Linked DNA regions of Homo sapiens: region 2 is linked to region 1. The links are contacts of gene promoters, found by promoter capture Hi-C in human tissues and cell types (Jung and others, 2019). All regions are on one chromosome and are shown on one strand. Each heading gives the region's core, a stretch centred on a gene start or on the middle of the fragment in contact. The rest is flanking DNA. Distances are from core to core; before and after follow the strand shown.

Evidence for each region. Contacts are between HindIII fragments. The study calls those that stand out against the background at their distance.
Region 2: a fragment that was not itself captured here is called in contact with the fragment with the promoter of SRRM3 in region 1 in 4 of the 25 tissues and cell types used here (IMR-90 fibroblasts, lymphoblastoid cells, mesenchymal stem cells and 1 more).

The regions. Positions count from the first base shown.
Region 1 is chr7:76,200,646-76,204,144 of GRCh38, reverse strand. It overlaps SRRM3 (serine/arginine repetitive matrix 3), which reads right to left and starts at 2,249. Exons shown (of 15, transcript NM_001110199.3): 1 at 2,078-2,249. RefSeq lists a silencer at 2,163-2,402. The HindIII fragment of the contact is 14,936 bases long and covers 1-3,499 here.
Region 2 is chr7:76,146,153-76,149,651 of GRCh38, reverse strand. No RefSeq gene overlaps it. Among named protein-coding and RNA genes, the nearest start is that of SRRM3, 54 kb to the left of the region's middle. The HindIII fragment of the contact is 4,745 bases long and covers 1-3,499 here.

The DNA.
Region 1 (3,499 bases), core at 1,000-3,499:
AGGTGAGGGTGAACCACTAAGAAAGGAAGGAGCAGTCACTGGCTGGCAGAGGTCAGCAAGAGGTTGGGAGGCAGAGGAGGTGCAGAACGGGTGCAGCAGTGAGCAGATGGGACTGTCAGACCCAGACCCCCCCTTTGGCAGGTGTGACGGGGTAGAGGCACCCCGCTGGCCGGTTCAAGGCACATTCTACCTCTAAGTATCCCAGTGACCTTGTGGGAGTCACCTCCTTACTGCACTGTATGCCCTCACCCACCTGCCTCAGGCTCCCCACCTGTAAAGCTGGCATCATAAATCAAGACACTGGCATTGAACTGGGCCTTGATACTCAGAGGATGGGACAGGTCATCAGTAACTCTCCTGCCTCCAGGAGGACAGCGCGAGTGGCTTCATGACCTTGGGAAAGTCACTCAAGCTTCATTTCTCAGCTATGAAATAGGGACAATGATGCCTTCCTCATGAAGCTTCTGTGAGGATTAGCTGAGTCAACCGTTGCATTGTGCCCAGCATGGAGCTGGGCATGAGGCTCTCAACCACTGTTCATCTCCTCTGGGAACAGAAAAATGTGCTTCAAATATCACTGAACACTATTCCACATTTATCCAGCTCTTCTTTAAGAAATTCTTACTTGTCTCCTATTTACTAACACTCACCCAGCATTTTATACCGTAAAAGTAGTCTCCCATCTCCTTATCCAGATTATTTCTTTCAACAGCAAAGTAGACATTGCTAACACTACACCTGTTTTACAGATTGAAAACAGACTCAGAAAGGTCAATGGCTTACCTGAGGTCACATAACCTAGATTTGATCCCATGTCTTTCTGACATCAGAGTCCATGACTCCCAACCCACATACCCCTACCTCTTAAAACCCAGTTGACTCTTTAGTCAGTCTTCAAGAATACCTCCTCCACCCCACAGGAGAGTGGGATGGGGCATAAAGTTAAGGAACCAGAAAGCTACTGCTGTGTGGGAACAATTTCCTAGCCAGCTGGGTCCTATTTTTGACTGAGGAAGAAGCTGGCACAAACTGGGGCCATGACCTTAAGATGCTCCCTGGACAGAGGAACTTGTGCACGTCTCTCCGTCAAAGCCCAGCACCTGCCTTTTCTCTTGCCATGGGACAAAAGACCAGCTCAAGCCCCCGATGCTAGGGTGAGTGAGGTCTTAGGACAGCGAGAAGTTATGGCTGGGATAGGGCACAGGCATTGAAGTACCACGTCAGACCTTGGTACAACCTTCCCTTCCTCCCACTAAATCTCTCCCCACAATGGATCTGCTGTCAGGAGTAGGAACTGCAGGAGGCTTCAACACTGTCCAGGCAGGAGCCCTGGGAGGGAGGGGGAGGCGGAGGCAAGGCAGAGGCTGCGTCTTTTCTCAGCTCTCTTCTTTACCAGGAATTCACTCTGGCGCAGGTCTAACTCTGGGCTAGAAACTCTCTCTGGGCGTCCGTGGTTGGGGTGGGGGGTGTGCACAGAGAACCCCCTCCCAAATTCCTAGTAGCTATTTTCTCTTCTGTGTCCTCCATCCTCTTCCCAGTGCAAGAGTAAATGCCATCCTGTGAGACCCAGTTCTCCTTGCCAGCTCCTGCCTCCCTAGGGGCATTTGGGTAGCCGGGAAAGGGGCCAGGCTGTCCCCTGGGCCGGCACCTCCTGCTGGACAGAGGCCCAGCATCCAGGTGGGGGCCTGCTCCCTTCACCAGGGCCAGTGACCAGCATCTCCACAGGGTTACTGCATCGGTCCTCCCTTCCCTGGGGAGCAGGTCCTTCTCCTCAGTGGGACTGCGGTTGGGGGGCCTCCCTGGCACCCTCATGGACTAGGCCATGGTCATTTATGCCCAGGGGAGTCCTGCCCATGACCCCAAAGGTCTCCACTGTCTCCATCCCTCTCAGTGAAATGAATGTTCCTCATCTCTGCTCCCCGGGCGCCTGGCACCCCCGGACAGACGCCCTCGCCGACCTCCCACACTGCCCCTCTGCTCGGGGGAGCCTGCAGACCACGGGGGTGCTGGGGAGGCCCGAGCTTCCACCCAGCCCCAGCCCCTCGGGGATATGCCCCCGCCCCACAGGCGCTCTCACCTCACCGCTGACCGCCGCGATCTACCGGGCGCTGGGGCCAGGCCCTCGGGTCCCGCCGGTCCGGGCTGCCGCCTAGTCTGGGCTGAGTTGGGCAGGGCAGCTCCGCGGCCCCCACGGCCCCGCACCCTCTGCCTCCCCGCGGGTGCTGCCGCCGCTTGCTGAAATGCTGGACAGCGCACCGCCACCGAGGCGCCTCTCTGCTCGCCCGCCAGCCAGAGCGGCCCAGCCCCGCGCCCGCAGCGCCCTCCGCAGGCCTGGAGGAACGCCCGCAGCGGAGGCAACAGCCCGGGCGGCTGGGCCGGGCCGTCTCCCGGCCGGCTCCCCCTCCTCCCCGCCCCCTTCGCCCCCCTCCCCCCCTTCCCCTCGCCCCTCACCTCCCCACACCCCCGCCCCTATCCCCAGCCCCCGGGGACATCTGTTTCCCCCACTTGCGAGAGGAGGCATGTCAGCCCTGGAAGGCGCCTGGGGCAAGGGAGGTTATTAGTTTGGATCTGGGAAATGCAGTCGGTGTGCAGAGGCCTCGCCAGGACACTCTCTTCCCACCCAGTGTTAAAGAAGGCACCAGGGGCTGGGCGCGGTGGCTCACGCCTATAATCCCAGCACTTTGGGAGACTGAGGCGGGAGGATCACTTGAGGCCAGGAATTCGAGACCAGCCTGGCCAACATGGTGAAACCCAGTCTCTACTAAAAATACAAAAATTAGCCAGGCGTGGTCGCAGGCACCTGTAATCCCAACTACTCAGCTACTTGGGAGGCTGAGGCAGGAGAATCGCTTGAATCTGGGAGGCGGAGTTGCAGTGAGCCAAGATCGCACCATTGCACTCCAGACTGGGCGACAAGAGCAAGACTTAGGGTCAAAAATAAAATAAAATAAAATAAAATAAAAGGCACCAGGGAGGTGAGGTGGGAGGATCGCTGGAGCCCAGGAATTTGAGGCTGCAGTGACCTATGGTGGCGCCACTGCACTCCAGCCTGAATGACAGAGGCTGTCATTTTTTGACACCATCTCAAAAATTTAAAAAAAAAAAAAGGAGGGTGTAGTGTGAGAGACATCCTAATGGAGACAGGAGATTTTAAATTATTTTTTTAAATTTTAAAATTTTGGCTGGATGCAGTGGCTCACATCTGTAATCCTAACATTTTAGGAGGCTGAGGTGGGAAATCACTGAGCTCAGGAGTTTGAGACCAGCCAGGCCAACATGAGGAAACCCTGTCTCTATGAAAAATACAAAAATTTGCCAGATGTGGTGGCATGCATGCACCTGTGGTCCCAGCTACTTGGGAGGCTGAAGTGGGAGGAAGGCTTGAGCCTGAGAAGCGAAGGTTGCAGTGAACCAAGATTGCTCCATTGCACTCCATCCTAGGTGACAGAGCCTCAATTTGTCTCAAAAACAAAAACAAAACAAAAAAACAAAAACAACA
Region 2 (3,499 bases), core at 430-2,929, 54 kb after region 1:
GGCTGCTTTGGGCTGCACAGCCGTCTGGCATTCAGACAGCTGAGCAGGAGGCAGAGGTGAGAGACCAAGATGGACTAAAAATGCTCTAGCTGCTGGGAGCTCATCTCGGCCCAGCCTCTTTGAAAGGAGGAACATTCGGTGCAGCCATTGGAACCTTATCCTTTATAAAATGGGACAGCTCACAGGATTACATTTCTAAGCCAATCCTGTGACCATCCTCCATGAAATTCTCTATTTTGGTTACATGTGGTCAAACTGAGCCTCACTGAAACAATTGAAAACAAATACTCTCGACAAATCTTAAAAATCGTTTTGAAAATCAAAAGGTATAGAAAATGTTGTGTCTTCTTTCTAAACTTTCTTCAGCCCAAATTCTGTTATTCTCTGATCTTTTATGGTGTAAAATCATACCCATTCCATTATATGTTGATTGTCAAGAAGGAAGTAGGCTTTTATTGCTATGTTTATGTCAGTTTCCATTTACTGTCTCACCACATTTATTGGGTTATTGCCTTTGCCTTTGACTCAACAGGAGCTGGAAGGGAAAGAATCCCAAATTCTGTTTCTTAAGGCAGCCAGTTGTCAGAATGGACTTTCCTCATTTTCTATTGTGAGGCCTGAAGAAAGACATTCAGTTCCAAAGGCTGTGCCTATCCTTTTAAATAAAAGAGAGAGGGCCCGGCACGGTGGCTCATGCCTGTAATCTCAGCACTTTAGGAGGCCGAAGCGGGCGAATCACGAGGTCAGGAGTTCGAGACCAGCCTGGCCAACATAGTGAAACCCCGTCTCTACTAAAAATACAAAAAATTAGCCAGGCGTAATGGCGGGCGCCTGTATTCCCAGCTGCTTGGGAGGCTGAGGCAGGAGAATCGCTTGAACCCGGGAGGCGGAAGTTGCAGTGAACTGAGATCACGTCACTGGACTCCAGCCTGGGGGACAGAGTGAGACTTCGTCTCAAAAAAAAAAAAAAGAAGAAGAAGAAGCCGTGCCAAGGATAGGTACTGACTGAAGCAGGAGGAACAAATTGGAAATGTGGGAATGCGAATGTGGGCAAGTTGAGGGACTTGTAGCTTCTCTTCGGTTGAATCTTTTTGCTGAAGCTGCTTTATTGTATCTGACATGTGAAACAGCACAATTTCAAACAAACCCATATTGAAGTCAACATACAAAAAAGCGTTTAAAAAACAGCCATTAGTGGCCGGGCGTGATGGCTCACGCCTGTAATCCCAGCACTTTGGGAGGCCAAGGCGGGCGGATCACGAGGTCAGGAGATCGAGACCATCCTGGCTAACATGGTGAAACCCCGTCTCTACTAAAAATACAAAAAATTAGCCAGGCGTGGTGGCGGGTGCCTATAGTCCCAGCTACTCGGAAGGCTGAGTCAGGAGAATGGCGTGAACCCGGGAAGCGGAGGTTGTAGTGAGCTGAAACCACGCCACTGCACTCCAACCTGGGCGACAGAGTGAGACTCCATCTCAAAAAAAAAACCATTAGTAAAAATAATTTTTTCAATTAACGCTATTTTTCCCTTGGTGTTGATAATCAGATAATCAAATAGCTTATTGCATATGGAAAGTTGTTTTCTTTGAGTTAATTCAACCTATTGCAACTTAGAATCCAGGAAAATATTATTTTCAAATATGTATTTGGAATCTTCAAAATATTAGATTACAAATTACCTTAAAATAAGAAATATTTATGCAGCATAGAAAAGTCAGCAGTTCTCTGAGGAAGGTAAATAGCAGTTAAAATATCATAATGCACTTTATATCAGTTGTAAAAAGAAAGATCCAGGCTTAGATTTATGGTATTACCATTAGAAATACAATATGAGTATTTAAGAAACATAGCAACCCTAGCCATTAAGTAGGCATCAAATAACATTCTGAATTAAGTTATAAGATAAAACCAAGATTTGGATGACAATGGCAATATTGTCCATCATTGTTATCCAATTCCTGGTTTTATCTTATAACTGGTTTTAGGGGCCATTCTAGTGAATTGTCCCTAAAAGATGTTTGAAAGTAGTTCCATGCACTTTTCCTGAATTAATTTAAATAATTGATTTCACAAACAATCAGATGGTATGCTGTAACATGTCATTGCACTAGAAAGAAAAAAAAACTCCACTAGTGGGGAATAATTTCAATAGAGGAAAGTAATGAATGTTGGATGTGAGTTCAGAAACCAGAGGTTGATAAAGTCTTACGATTGCTATATGCACTGTGGGTCTACTGTATTTGGAAAATTGCAAAACAAAATATTTTTTAAAGAACAAAAATCTGGTGAGTAGCATACACAGCTTTCAAAAATAAATTGCATAACTTCATATTTCAGTAATTAAAGATTTAACAATTGTGATTTTGTGGCTAAACAAAATATACTGAACACATTATGTATAAACGATGGATTCAAAGCTCCAGAAAATTATCTTAATGAGGCGTATAAACTCTTTTTGTTTAATGTCCACACCAAATCATTATGGTCTGCCATTTCATGAAATAACAAGAGTTTTAAAATAAGTGATGTTTTTTAGTTTGTGTATCTATATTCTTTCCTACCAGATATAGCACAGTGTAGTACAAGGGCCTACAGTTATAAGCCTTGGGAAAGATACTGTTTTGGCCACATATTTCAGCTATGTGACCCTGGAAAGAGGGTCTCAGAGGGACACTGTGGCCCTCAGTGTCTTTTCATTGGTAAATGGGGGCAACATCACTTTTATAATGACAGCTGAAAAAAATACAATTTTCCTTTTATTCTCCCTTCCTTTCATTTAGGCTGTAGTTTTCACTTTTTAACTACAAAGCAATTTATCTCTTGATAACACTTCTAGTGTATTGTCCCTAAAATATTTTTGAAAGTAGTTCTATACACTTTTCCTGAGTAATGAAAACATCACATATTTGCTAACTTGAAAGAATCCCGAGTCAGGAGATGGCCTGGATTCTCTTTGACCCTTCAACTGAAGTCTTTGACCAAAGGAGCACGGGTGACCCCTCTCTCCTTCATTTTCTGACCTGTAGAGTATTGGACTCAATGACCGATCCTCTCTTCTAGCTCCAAAATACTGGGCTAAACTCCATGGAACTCCCTTCTGAGTTAAAAATAGTAGACAGGCCTGCACTATCAACATTTGTAGAAAATTACGAAATGCTTAGAGTCACTTTGTAATTTAGTCTAAGGTTTGAATGCATAAGAGTTCAAATGCAATAATTGTGTTGGTAACACAACAAAGACATGTATGTTTTTATGTACCTTTATGTTCTATGCATTAGTCCTTCATTCCTTGGCATGAGGAGAAGTGATGGTTTCTCAGTGACCTTCCAGAACTCTAAGGCTGTGTTTCTCACACCAGGCCTCAGGGTTTCTACATTTTGGACAAATTTCCAATATTGTACCCATGCACACCTGAGTCTAAGAACTCTGCTGTAAGGTGACATTAAACAGCACCTGAAGTTATATTTGAGATGATTACTCAGTAATCATTGTACAGTTG